Linked DNA regions of Homo sapiens: regions 1, 2, 4 and 5 are each linked to region 3. The links are contacts of gene promoters, found by promoter capture Hi-C in blood cells and fetal thymus (Javierre and others, 2016). All regions are on one chromosome and are shown on one strand. The core of a region is centred on a gene start or on the middle of the fragment in contact, and the rest is flanking DNA. Distances in the headings are between cores, read along the strand shown. Region 1 has its middle 18 kb from the start of MRGPRX3. Region 2 holds the start of MRGPRX3 (MAS related GPR family member X3). Region 3 holds the start of IGSF22-AS1 (IGSF22 antisense RNA 1). Region 4 has its middle 18 kb from the start of TPH1. Region 5 overlaps SAAL1 (serum amyloid A like 1).

Region 1 (2,700 bases), core at 7-2,506, 560 kb after region 3:
TCTTTTCAAGAGCCTAGGAAGTAAGAAGAATTAGTAATATTCCCATTTTACAGGAGATGACAAAGGAAGACATAAAGGATGTGTAATTATTTCTTAGTCTCACACGATGTGGATTAGAACCCAGCAGGGCTGCCTCAGAGTTTATCTTTTTTGCCAACCCTTTGGATCCAGCACCACTGTGTGTTGCTTACACATCACTGTGTGGGAAAGCAGAGGACATTGTAATTCCCAATATAAATCCAAGATGGTAGTCAAAACTGTGGACTGAAAAAAGTAACGTAAGCAAACTCTGGAGACAATAAGAAACCAACCTAATATCTAACAAATGAGAGTGAAGGGAAACCAATTAGGAGCACAATAAGGAAATCAGAGACCCTTTCCTTCCTCATGAAGTCAAGCTTTCCTCTGGAATCCTGAGGAGCCACAGGCGTAGAAAGCATCCAAGTGGAAACAAAATGCATCCTTCCTCAGGTGTACAGAGAGATATCAAAAGTGAGTGCATCCATCCTGAGCTGTCTTAGAGAAACAAGCTGCCACAGCCTTGGGCCAGAAAGGGAAATGGAAGGAAAACTGTGATCCCCACTCAGGGCACTTAACAGTTTGTGCATCTATATTTAGGGTATATATTTGATATACCGTATTTAACATTTGAAACATTTGTCTTCCTCATTAAACCTGAAGCTCCATAGGGAGTAAGCCATGCCTGTTTTTGTTCACTGTAGTATCACCAACATTTAGCATGTGATATGGTTTGGCTCTGTGTCCCTACCCAATCTCATCTTGAGTTGTAATCCTCATGTGTGGAGGGAGGGAGCTGGTTGGACATGATTGGATCATGGGGCAGGATTTCCCCCTTGCTGTTCCCATGATAGCAAGTGAGTTCTTACGAGTTCTGGTTGTTTCAGTGTCTGGCACTTTCCCATTCTCTCTCTCTCTCTCTTTCTCTCTCCTGCTGCCATGTAAGGCATGACTTGCTTCCCTTTCACCTTCCTTCATGACTGTAATTTTCCTGAGACCTCCCAAATCATGTGGAACTGTGAGTCAATTAAATCTCTCTTCTTTGTAACTTACTCAGTCTCAGGTAGTATATTTATAGCAGTGTGAGAACAGACTAATACAGCATGTGTTCCTTAAAGACTATCTATTGTACTATTCTCATTTGACATAAGAAGGAGTTGAGGCTACAAGAGTCAGACTTGTTTTTCCAATATCACAAAGAGCAGGCCCCATGTCAACATCCCTGTATGAGACTTATGTACTGTTCTCTGCCCCATCATTCATTATTTCTGAGGAGCTCCTGAAAAACCTTGATGTGAGCAAAAAATCTCAGAGATAATCAAGGGTTTCAGAGACTGCCAAGTTGCCCCAATCTCCATTCTCCTCTTCAGTGACATAACAATTCTGAGCATTTAAGAGCAGCACAAGGACACATGTCCCAGTTTTCCTTGATGCTGGATGACATCATAAGACCAGGTTCTTGTCAGTGGAAGGTGAGCAGATGTGATGTAAGGAAGTCCGGGCTCGTGGGATCAATGGAAGAAGTACAGGCTCCCCTTTCCCTCTTTCTTTTTCCATCAGGCTAGAATGCTGATGTGGGTGGGAACCAGTAAGACCACAAAGAATGAGGACTCCACTCTATGGACTGGGAAGCAGCAGTTTTTGGAGTCTTAATGTATGATGCCTTGAAGCCTCCAACTTATATCTAAGATACATTCATTCCTGGGCATTACAGGCAATTCATTCTTGGACCCCTGCATGCACCACAATCTCCAGATGTTCAGTTTCCTTATAGAAAATGGCATAGCATTTATATATAACCTACCCACATTCTCCTATATACTTTAAATGATTTCTACTTTACTAATAATACCTAAGACCATCTAAATGCTGTATAAATAGTTGTTATATTTTTTAGGGAAGAAAGGATAAAAATGTCTGTACCTATTCAGTACAGATGTCACTATCCTTTTTTATTTTCCTTTTCTGACCATTTTTGATTTGCTATTGGGTGAATCCCTGGATGTGGAAACTATGGATATGGAGAATCCACTGTACTTTCTTGTTTAAGATATTTTGATTTAATAAAGATATCTTTATTAGAACAACTAAGCTTATACTCAAACTAAAAGAAATATATTTTCTCTTAAAAATTATCTTCCAATTAGTCATTTTTAATTAATGTGGGTGTTTGTCCATAAAATTGACACTAGAGAGAGAAGGTGGAAACAGAAAAAAAAAAAATAGATGGAGCTGTGATGATACATGATTCAATGACATTTAGATTGAGAAAAACCCCAGAAAGTAGGAGGATATAAGAAGGTCAGAGAGATAGTCTCATTTTCCCTAAGGATTTTTTGTCCCTTCTTTTCTACCCTATTTGGCGTTCCAAGATGGTGGCTTCTATGTACCTCATAAATGAGATTCTTTTCCTTCTGGTTTCTGGTTCAACTGAGCAACTAGGAGACACTAGCAGGAGACTGGAGGGCAGGAGGACAGCAATTTTGGGATTTCTGGCTCTCTGCCTGTGATGCTGTGTGATGGTGATGCAGGGTTCTCCACCTGCCTCATCCTCTCCCACCTTTACAGTTACAGCTACAGCTATGCTTTTAATGGTAACTGCTCTTTTCCTGTCCCTGTAAGCCTAGGGGAGGAAATAGTGTTTATTGCTTGCCTTAGGTTGCATCGCCATGCATTGTCACT
Region 2 (2,700 bases), core at 157-2,656, 570 kb after region 3:
GCAGCAATTTTTGGAATTCTGATGTATGATGCTTTGGAGCTTCTAGTTCAGATCTCGAAGAGTGTCATTTTTGTGTATTTACAGGGGATTCTTTCCAGAACCCCAGCACAGACCAAAATCTGCAGATGCTCAATTTCCTTATATGTGGTATTTGTATATACTCTATGCACTTTCTCCCAGATACATTAAATCATTTAAAGTTATTTAGAATAACTGACAAAATGCAAATGCTATATAAGTTCTTGTTATATTGTAGTTTTTCAGAAATAATGACAAAGAAATACAAGTTTGTACCTGTTCAGTACATACACAACTCCGCCACACCTTTATTTTTGGAAAAGTTTCCTCCTGTAGTTTGTTGAATCTGTAGATTCAGAACCTAGTGACCCAGAGGCACAACTATACTTTCTTGTTTAAGATATTTCTTCTTCATGTCTTTATTAGATCAGCCAAACTTATATTCTAAACAAAATACATATGTTCTTTTTAAAATTACATTTTATTTTCTATGCATTTTTAACAAATGCAAACATTTCTGCATAAAAGTGACAGTAGAGAAAGACAAGCCAAACATTAAAGTAGTCTGATAGAGCTGAAATGAGACAGGGATCAATCAGATAGAGAAAGCCCCAGGAATTAGGAGGATACAAGAAGGTGAGAGGGATAGTCTCATTTACCATGAGGATTTGCTTTCCATTCTTCTTTATCCTGTTTGACATCCCAAGAGAGTGGCTTCTATGTACCACATCAGTGGGATTCTTTTTATTTCTGGTTTCTGGTGGAATTGAGACACTGGGAGACACCAGCAGGAGACTGGAAGACAGCAGGAAAGCACCTTGGGATTTCCATCTCCTGGCTCTCTGTCTGTGTATTAGTTCATTCTCAAATTGCTAAAAAGAAATACCTGAGACTGGGAAATTTATGAAGGAAATGGGTTTAACTGGCTAATAGCTCTACAGACTGTACAAGAAGCATAGCAGCTTCTGCTTCTGGGGAGGCCTCAGGAAGCTTCCAATCCTGGTGAAAGGCAAAGGGGGAGCGAGGCGTCTCACATGGTGAGAGCAGGAGTAAGAGAGAGGGAGGAGGTGCTACACGCTTTTAAACAACTAGATTTCATGAGAACTCGTCAGTATCACAACAACAATACCAAAGGGGGATGGTGTTAAAACATTCATGCAAAACCATCCCCGTGATCTAATAATCATCTCCCACAAGGCCCTTCCTCCAACATTGGAAATTACAATCAACATGAGATTTTGGTGGGAACACAGATCCAAACTATATCAGCCTGTGTGGCTGTGCGTTGGCCACGCAGGGCTTCTCCACTTGCCTGCTCATGCTCTCCCACCCTTATGGCTACAGCTATGGCTATAGTGACAATGGTAACTGCTCCTTCCCTGTCCGTTTCAGCCTAGGGGAGGAAGTAGTGCTCCCCTATGTATTGCTGCTTAGGATCCTGACCCTTAACTCTGTGCATCTTTGTAAATACTTTCCTCATGAAACACTCCTTAATTATTGGGCCATCTATATCTTCCTTAGACCTTTCCAGATAGGCAAAGAAGAATAAATTTGAAAAGTAAGTGAAACAAAGAAACTGGCTCTATAGCAGTTCAACTCTGGGAAGAAATGCCTGCATGTCCCCTTGCTCGTTAAATGAATGTAAGAGGCAGCAGTCTCTCCATGAGGGCAGATTGAATGATTGGAATGAAGGAGGTGATATGGGGAGATAAATTAGAAGGGGGGACACCATTTAGAGCTCACACAGTTTGGGTTGACAGCACTCAGTTTCTGAAAGGAAGCTTCATGTCTCCTGTCTTTTCCTGAAACAAGCTCGTGACCCCCTGCATGTAGCACCAAGGTGGAAGCATAAGGACATGATCTTACAGCAAAAATCATAACTGACTGTGGAAGAAGAGAGTTCTTGGTACTTACCCTTATCGTTCCTTCTTTGTCCAGTGGTGAAGACCTCCCTTGTGCTAAAGGTAGAGAGCCTTTATGGGATTCAGTGACTTCAGAGGACTTTTCTGTGTTGCTTAATTCAGGAGATGCCTACAGGAGCTGAAATGAAAGCTGGTGAGCAATCCAGGCTTACGAAGATGCTGGACAGTCTTGTTATTTCCTGTATGAGGACTATGGGCAAATCAGAGGCCAGAGGTATTTGAGACACAAATCCTAACTGAGATGATTCTTGGCCTCTGTCCCATATCCAGTACATTTAAGCCTCTCCTATCACGTCCCATCTTGTTCAACTTCCTGTAAGTAATTGCTGTCCTGATTTTAAAAATCAATTATGGGCCTAGGCATCACATTAAGCAATGTGAACTATCATTATGAGGCTTTATATCCAAATGAAAAAGTAGATCATGGGACCATTCAAGGCTGACAATGGCCTGACACAATTTTTTGATGTTTTCTTTATCATAGTGGTGATATATTCATGTGTATACTTTCTTTCCAAATGCCAGAGAAGTGTATGCAAGGTGAAAATCTAGAGTCCCATTGTCCAGAGGCTACCACTTGCTACACTTTTCATTCTTACTTCATTATTATAAACTCTGAACAGTGAACTTTTTTAAATTCTGTGAAATTAAATCATTTATTATTATTATTTTTATTTCATTGGGATTTTGGGGAACAGGTGGTGTTTGCTTCCATGGATAAGTTCTTTAGTGGTAATTTCTGAGATTTTGGTGCACCCAT
Region 3 (2,700 bases), core at 138-2,637:
TACCGAATCTTGCTTCAGAATGAGTTTGGAGAAGCACGCTATGACATCCATGTGCGCGTGGCAGGTATGGAGAGAAGGCAGAGGCCTCCAAGACCCATCCCTGTACACTCTCCAAAGCACAGCTCCCCAGTGCCGCTTGAGTTCCTACCACAGGAAAGTCATGCCTTAGGGCCATGAAGATTTCTTTGACACCACAGAGCAAGACTTTATCATACAGAGTATGGTCGGCAGAGAGAGTAGAAATGGGTGGAGGGGCAGGAGGGACAAATGGAGATGAATCCATTAAAAATTGGGGTGACTGCTTAAAGAGAGCTGGAAGCTTTAAAATAAAGCTCTAAACCCCCAAGGAAGGAATGGATTCATTTTTACTGAACAGTAACTACATGCCAGTCTCTTTACCCACTATTTCTACGAAATAGTCATTGTCAGCTCTATTTTGCAATTGAGGAAAGAAGTCTCAGATAAGTAACTTACCCCAGGTCACGAGGCTAGTAAATGGCAGAGCAGACTTCAGAAATAGTTTTCCGACTCCAAGACACCAGCTGCCTGAGACTTGCCCCATCTTATCTTCCATCGGACTTGGCAGATGGCTGGGGTGGGGACATAATACTTCAGGTGCCCCAAGGTCGCTGACAGATCTTCCAACTCTTCCAGATTTCCCTCGGCCCCCCACAAACCTACGGTTGTTTGAGGAAGTCCCCAACACAGTGACTCTGACCTGGAACCACAGCCCAGATGTGCAGGAGGACGGTGAGGCTCACTACATCATCATGAAGCGGGATGCAAGCACAGCCACCTGGTACACGGCAGCCGAGCGTGTCTTCAGCAACAAGTACACAGTGACGGGGCTGCTCCCAGGCAGGAAGTACTACTTCAGAGTGGTGGCTCGGAATGAAATCGGTGACAGTGAGCCACTTGACTCCAGGGACACCTGGCTCATCAATAAGGACCAGAGTGAGTCTGGGACTTGCAGTTAGGGTTAAGTCTGGGTGCCCTGATGGTGGGGATGACATAAGGGTCCCAAAGGGTACCCAAGAGGCAAGATAAAATCTGAAAACCATTGAGATAGAACGGTTAATATCTGGGACGCTGCGGAGAGAAGGAAATATTGGCTTTCTTCGGGGTACTTAGGGGTGAGACTAAAGTGGAGGTGGGGAGGTACCTTTGGGGGCAGAGAGGACGGTGGAGGGGCTGCGGAGGGACATAGAGCGCAAACGCGTTCTGCTCTGAGGGGAGGGTCTAACGGGGCTGAGAACAGGGGAGGGCTCTAGGGAGCCGGGAGGATGTCTGGGATCCCTGGAGGCTAGGGGTTAAGGGTGGGGGCCGCGTCGGGAAACTCGAACTGAGGAGCTAAAGGGATAAGAGGGGAGACTGTGGTCGCTGATATGACGTAGGGGAAGCTTGGAGGCGGAGTTAAAGGCTGGGAATAACCGGGTCCAGGAAGCTGGCGCTGGAATGACATCTCGGCCCCAGGGGTGTGGGAAAGCGTGGTTTGGGTGGCAGAACCCTGGAGTGGCTGGGGACGGGGCTGGGGGGTCGGGGGAGGCCTGGGGGCGGGTGGGGAGCCCTTAAGAACCAGTGTAACATTGGGCCCCCAGAGTTGGTGGCGCTGGGAATGTGGCCTAGGTCCTCGGGGTTCCGTGTAAGCTGAACTGTAAGACGTGGGTGGTGGGTGGGGGCCTTGGGGCGCCCTCACGGCCTGCCCCGCCCCGCCCGCGCAGTCCAGGACCTGAGCGCCAAGCTCAAGCCCTACGAGAAGAAGGACTGGCGCCACGCGCCGCGCTTCGTGACGCCCCTCAAGCCACACACGGTGCTCCGCGGCCAGGACTGCACCATGACCTGCGCCTTCCTTGGGAACCCGCGGCCCACAGTGACCCTCTACAAGGGCGACGTCAACATCACGGCCAACTCCAAGTTCTGGTACAACTCCACCAGCGGCGTGTGCACCCTCGTCATCCCCACCTGCACGCTCAAGGACAGCGGCGATTACAGCGTGCTGGTGGAGAACGAGCTGGGCAAGGACCGCAGCAGCTGCACGCTCACCGTCTATGGTGAGGGCGCCGCGGGGTCCGGCCTCGAGGAGGGGGAGAGGCGCAAAAGGCTGGTCTTGTGGGCCATTGGTCAACTATTTGGCTGGCACCGTTTTTTAATCTGACTGCCAACAGGTGGTGCAAACATTCTTAATTGGCCACAGTTCTTACCACTCTCCCATCCTTTCGATGTCATTTGTTATATGCCTGGCCCCTGCAGACATGAGAGTTCTCAATCCCTAGATAAGATGTGGTTTGCAACTCTTGGTGAGCCTAGACCTGCCTTCAGAAAAAAGATACTGGTGATCAGGACTCAACCAGACTCACCAATCACGATCTCTCTGGCACGGTTCTGGAAATAACCTATATGTTTACAAAATTTTGCGGGTGATTCTGATGTGCAATAAAAATTAAAACTGGTCTAGGATAAGGACCGGTGGGGGGCACAAACAAGGGAAGGAGCGAAGGGAACCCTCCCTTTTGTACATGCATGCCATGTTTCTACTCATGTGTGCACACATAGGGGGAAGCATTTTATTCCTTCCCAGTCTACTGTCTTCATAGCCACACAGCTAGCAGCATGAACTCTAAATGCAAAGCTGGCCTGCCTTGCTTTCTGTTGCTTAAATTTCCCCCAGCTTTCCTCTCATGGTAAAATCCCAAACCAAGA
Region 4 (2,700 bases), core at 161-2,660, 640 kb after region 3:
TCTGAGGCTTCTTTTTCCTGGCCAGGCTTGTTGTGAGTCCTGGCTCCTTTGGTATATCAGACACTTCCTCAGCAGGTTACATCCACGTCATGTGTGCACCTGATTATCAGCGGCTTTGTTGCCCACTGAGGAAAATGGACCCTCCCTCTCCAAGTGACCAGCAAAGGCAGTTTAAGGTCATGCTGCTGCTCTCTGTAGGGTGGGGCTTGGGCCTTTTTGATTACCTTCTGCCGCAATGGAGCCTGTAAAATCTTCTAATATCTGGCACCCATGAGGAGGTGCCCCTGATTAGCCTCTTCCAGGGTGGAGTATGGGGCATTTATGCTATGTAGATAGGATTTTCCCAAAGATGCGAGGAAGCTCTCTCCTTCTGTCCATTTGGAACTCCAGGAGTGGCAGTCCTTGTCTCTCCACATGGTGTATTTTCTTCTCTTAACTCTCCCAGATGGTCACATTTGGATTCTCTCAGAATCTTCCTGATTTCCATGAAAGCTCGGTCACAGTACCTTAAGCTCAGTTGGAGAAACAAAGAAGGGAGGTTAATCATCACGTTTGCTCATTTCCCCTGATGTAGACTTATCATACCCTTTCATAAAAGCTTCAGAGGTCATTAATTTGACAAATGGTACTGGCTTTGCTTTCTGCAGCCTCAACAAATGCTGTTTAACTTGTTGGAGAAATGGCTAGTGGCACTGTATGAGCAGGGCGATAATGCCTCTTTGAACAACACAAAGCAAACATTAAGACAGCAGACATTGAGGGAAATCAAGTGTGCCCAAGTAACGGGGCCAATTTCCCCAAGCACAGTTGATTCTCATGCTATAAGATAGTTTTCCTCACTCCAAAATCTGAGTAGCCAGCACTTCCTAATGATTCAGACCATTCTGTGTTTCCATATTAATGGCATTTTTGCACAGTTTGCGTTATTAACTTGAGCAGGAATGCTGCATGGTACAACTCCGGGGGGCACCATTCACGCTGTCTTTAATGTAAATCACGAGTCCTAGTCTTAGAATGTCTTGGCTCTTCCAGATGGTATTGAGTGCTTTCATAATTATCACTAAAGGATTGGGAGGTTTCTATATGATTCAGAACCCAAACTTAATGAAGTCTTAAAAACCTGAAGGAACTGAAAAATGAAATATATCTTTGGGTTCCTCAATCTACTTTTTGAAATGTTGTGGTACATTGAGGTAAAATGTTTCCAAGGATAAGTGAGGCCTTAGGTTCTGTTCCCCCTCTGCCACTTACTGTGTGACTTTTGGCAAGCTGTAATGCACAGCAAATGAAAGGCTTTGTCGTGATCGATACTTGTTGGGCCATTTTGCTCAGTGTGTTTGAAATGGCCACAAGCCAACACTTCATGAGGCAATGTGTTGAAGCAGAGAAGTTCAAGTGATAAACAGGGTTTCCAATTGTAATTTTAAAAAGTGTAATGAGAATTGAAGGGGACTTGGAATGAAATTTGTGTAATGCTGTGTGTAAACAGACTTGTGCACCACTCTTCCCGTAAAGCCATTTGGGTGTCATCTGATATGAGAGCTCACTGAAGATGTCATGTTGTGAAGATTACTATGATTTTTGCAGGGAGATTTAGTAGATCTGGATCTTGAGGACTTAAGAGATTATGTCCCGGCCTAACCTCTCTCCTCCATCCCTTTGCTTCATCAAATTAATTTCAATTTGAACATGGATAGAATGCCATATGGCTTCTAACATCTGAGGTCTTAAAGAAGCAGCCTCTGTTTCACACGCGTGGAGGCATAAATGGAGCTTTGACCTTCATGATTAAGGATTACAGACAGCATTTTGTTTTTATTATCATGTCTTGCATTTCTCTCACATCTCACATAGACTTGCTTTTTTCTTTTTGTGTTTGAGACGGAGTCTCAATCTGTTGCCCAGGCTGGAGTGCAGTGGCACGATCTCCACTCACTGCAACGTCCGCCTCGTGGGCTTAAGTGATTTTCGTGCCTCATCCTTCCAAGTAGCTGGGACTAAAGGTGCCCGCCACCATGCCCAGCTTCATTTTTGTATTCATATATTCCTTCTCAACAAGCATGTATTGGATAATTACTTATTAACAGCCTTCTCTGTAATAGGCACTGTGCTGGATCCTGCCGTAGAGGTGAAAGGCACAGTTCCTGCCCTGAAAGAGTTTATGGCCAAGGAGAGAAACAAAGGAACAAATATTTACAATGCCATAGACAGAAGTAAGCTTAGGGAGCGTTCCCACGGCAACTGTGGTTTCTGGAAAATGGTTGTCGCTTGTTACAGGGATCTCCTTCAAGTAAATGATAAAATCTAAGCTAAACATGTACATATTCATTCACTGGAGTTCAAATCACGTTTCCTCTTAGAAGAGGTAGCATGATGAGTAAAACCACACAGAGCTGAGAGACAGAACAGGTGGTTTCTAGTTCATGTTATGCCATTTACAAGCCGTGTAACTTTAGATAAGTCACCGAACCATCTGAGTCTCAGTTACTTTAATGACCAAAGTAAACAATATAAATAAAAGTACTTTGAAAAATGTAAAGCACTATATAAATTTTAGAGATTGATATCAGAAAAACCTTTAGTTTGCTGCATGCACACAATATATAGCTGAAGAATAGTAAGCACAACTTTTACCTTGGGCCTAATTTTTCCCTGAAGAAAAATTTCCCTAATCTTTCTTAACCATACACATAAATCACA
Region 5 (2,783 bases), core at 219-2,718, 630 kb after region 3:
GGATGTCGTATGTTAATTTGTTTCCTACCTTTTAATAATTTATCCATTTTGATTATTTGTATGAATTTCTTGGGTAATAATGTATCTTTTCCATATTTATCGCATGTATTTTTTTCCCATTCTTTGCTGTTGTTTCTGTTTTTTGGAGCAAGGGACATCGATATTTCTTAACTTTTAAGTGGTGGGAACATCAAAGAAAGGTGGGCTGAGAATACACGAGTGCTATGTCATGCAAATTCTTATGTCATATTTAGGGGATTTAGACTTCATCTTGAAAAAGCTGAGGAACTACTAAAGATTTTTTACTTTTAAGCACCAAGTGATACGATCAGTTTAGAAAGATTACTCCAAAAGCAATAGAGAGGAAGGAGTAGAGAGAGTTGAGGCTGGAGGGCAGGAGATCAACTAACAGGCTCTTGTGGTTGGTAATCTTCAAGAATAATCTGAAAAATGATGGCAGCCTAAACAATGGAAGTTTGAATGGAGAGGAGGGATGGGGGTAAGAGAGATTTGGTAGAATAGAATTGAGCACTTGCCGGGAGGAGTCAGCAGGAGGGGAGAAGGAAAAGTCTTGGCTGTGTTCCAAGTTTGTAGTCTGTGTAGCAGGGTGGATGGTGGTGCCCTTCACTAAAGTAAAGACGACAGTGGAGAACATGTTTGGGTTACATAAGCCTCCTTGATGTTGGTGGGTTCAGGTGGGACATTTGAAATGCCTATGAAGTCAGGAGGGAATTGAATATCCTGATTTGTTTTTATTCACTAGTTAAAGCTTGAAAAATTTTCCTTTTTTGACATTAAATCTTGTTGTTGTTTTAGGAGACGGTGGCTCAGGGAGTAAAGGAAGGCCAGTTGAGCAAACAGAAGTGTTCCTCTGCATTTCAAAACCTTCTTCCTTTCTATAGCCCTGTGGTGAGTATGGGTAAATGTATATAGGTGGCCAAGTTTTGTAGGATTACTAAATGTTTTCAAGTAAGCACTTGATTTCGAGGTCATTGTCAAAAATGATAGTATATACAATTTATATGACTTAATGCCTTTGTCAGATAGATGACTGCTGGAAACAGAAAACCAAATACCGTATGTTCTCACTTGGAAGTAGGAGCTAAACCATTGGATACTATGGACATACAAATGGGAGCAGTAGACACTGGGGACCACAGGAGGAGGGGAGGGAGAGAGGGAGGGCAAGGGCTGAAAAACTACCTATTGGGTACTAAGCTCACTGCCTGGGTAACAGGTTCATCTGTGCCTCAAACCTCGGCATCATGTAATATACCTTTATAACAAACCTGCACATTTAGACTCCCCTGAGTCTACAATAAAAGTTGAGGGAAAAAAAGATGACTACTGGAAAATTCATAATAGTATTGGGAGTAACAATTCTAAGAGGAAAAAAATAAGCTCTGAATTTATAGTACTCCTTTCTGTTATGAAGTAGATAACATCTATATTAAGCCAAAATCAGATTCTTGGGAATAGTCAGTAGGTTTTTATGGTTCTTCAAATGACATCACATTTCCTACCATTAGAATCAGATTTCAAAATAGGAACTTTTTCAGGAAAATGAAGGACAGAATGTGGGAACAGACTGTAAAGAAGAGGCGGGGGGAGAAGTACTAGCTCAAGAGTAAAACGGAATGGGAAAGCATAGTCATTTCCTTGAGAATGATTTAGAAGACTGCTTAGGAAGTACTGTTACTATCATCTGGAGATCTGCCAGCATTTCTTTTCCATTGGACCATTTAGAAACCACAGGTAGAGCAATCAGTACCTTAAAGCACGTTTTTCTCTTCTGTGTTTGATTTTTGTTTGTTTGTTTGACTCACAGGTGGAAGATTTTATTAAAATCCTACGTGAAGTTGATAAGGCGCTTGCTGATGACTTGGAAAAAAACTTCCCAAGTTTGAAGGTTCAGACTTAAAACCTGAATTGGAATTACTTCTGTACAAGAAATAAACTTTATTTTTCTCACTGACAGTTGAAATTGACTTATTGGAAATATTAACTAAAGCCCATATTAGACCATAATTGTCTGGTGTTAACATTTTTCTGTCCTAGACTTGTCTCACTTTTTTTGACTTTGGAATCTGAGGTTTCACCACTGTCACCCCTCTTTTTATGTGATATTTATCATCCTCAGTTGAGGAAAGCAAAAATGTAAGCTTATCATTGAGGTTCTTTTTAGGATATGTGCGAGATCAGTGTTGATTTTCTTCATAGCTGTTAATTTTGTTTGTTTGTTTGTTTGTTTTGAGACAGAGTCTCACTCTGTCGCCCAGGCTGAAGTGCAGTGGTGCGATCTCAGCTCACTGCAAGCTCCGCCTCCTGGGTTTATGCCATTCTCCTGCCTCAGCCTCCCGAGTAACTGGGACCACAGGTGCCCGCCACCACGCCTGGCTAATTTTTTGTATTTTTAGTAGAGACAGGGTTTCACTGTGTTAGCCAGGATGGTCTCGATCTGACCTCGTGATCTGCCCGCCTTGGCCTCCCAAAGTGCTGGGATTACAGGCGTGAGCCACCGTGCCCAGCCTAATTTGATTTTTTTAAGTGAGAATTACGTCTTTGTATCCACTGTTAAGTATATTCAGCTGCAGTAACAGAAACCCTCCTGTAGCAGCTGAATCTGATCTCTTTCAGGAACCTTATGCAAAAATCCAGATGTAATGAGGTGGCTCCTTTCACCCTTCACGTGGTCTGCCAGGTAGGCCTTTGCGTTCATGTTTATTGCCTTGTGGTTAAGGGGGCTGTGCCATCTCTGGGCCTTTATCCACATTCAGGAAGAA

What was found. The method cuts DNA at HindIII sites, captures the fragments that hold promoters and counts their contacts. A CHiCAGO score of 5 or more calls a contact.
Region 1: a fragment that was not itself captured here is called in contact with the fragment with the promoter of IGSF22-AS1 in region 3 in 3 of 17 cell types (total B cells, naive B cells and non-activated CD4 T cells); the score reaches 9.0 in total B cells.
Region 2: a contact is called between a fragment that was not itself captured here and the fragment with the promoter of IGSF22-AS1 in region 3, in 2 of 17 cell types (naive B cells and total B cells). The highest score is 7.6, in naive B cells.
Region 4: a fragment that was not itself captured here is called in contact with the fragment with the promoter of IGSF22-AS1 in region 3 in 1 of 17 cell types (total B cells); the score reaches 5.3 in total B cells.
Region 5: a contact is called between a fragment that was not itself captured here and the fragment with the promoter of IGSF22-AS1 in region 3, in 2 of 17 cell types (activated CD4 T cells and total B cells). The highest score is 6.7, in activated CD4 T cells.

Annotation. Positions count from the first base shown.
Region 1 is chr11:18,148,764-18,151,463 of GRCh38, reverse strand. No RefSeq gene overlaps it. Among named protein-coding and RNA genes, the nearest start is that of MRGPRX3, 18 kb to the right of the region's middle. The HindIII fragment of the contact is 1,712 bases long and covers 401-2,112 here.
Region 2 is chr11:18,131,972-18,134,671 of GRCh38, reverse strand. It overlaps MRGPRX3 (MAS related GPR family member X3), which reads right to left and starts at 2,101. Exons shown (of 2, transcript NM_001370464.1): 1 at 1,933-2,101. The HindIII fragment of the contact is 791 bases long and covers 1,011-1,801 here.
Region 3 is chr11:18,705,168-18,707,867 of GRCh38, reverse strand. IGSF22-AS1 (IGSF22 antisense RNA 1) reads right to left here and starts at 1,387. Exons shown (of 3, transcript NR_186353.1): 1 at 719-1,387; 2 at 475-590. IGSF22 (immunoglobulin superfamily member 22) reads left to right here. Exons shown (of 23, transcript NM_173588.4): 20 at 1-64; 21 at 655-954; 22 at 1,722-2,051. The HindIII fragment of the contact is 1,081 bases long and covers 322-1,402 here.
Region 4 is chr11:18,062,860-18,065,559 of GRCh38, reverse strand. No RefSeq gene overlaps it. Among named protein-coding and RNA genes, the nearest start is that of TPH1, 18 kb to the right of the region's middle. The HindIII fragment of the contact is 1,620 bases long and covers 601-2,220 here.
Region 5 is chr11:18,079,537-18,082,319 of GRCh38, reverse strand. SAAL1 (serum amyloid A like 1) reads left to right here. Exons shown (of 12, transcript NM_138421.3): 11 at 817-909; 12 at 1,829-2,028. The coding sequence ends at 1,921. Among named protein-coding and RNA genes, the nearest start is that of SAAL1, 25 kb to the left of the region's middle. The HindIII fragment of the contact is 1,393 bases long and covers 772-2,164 here.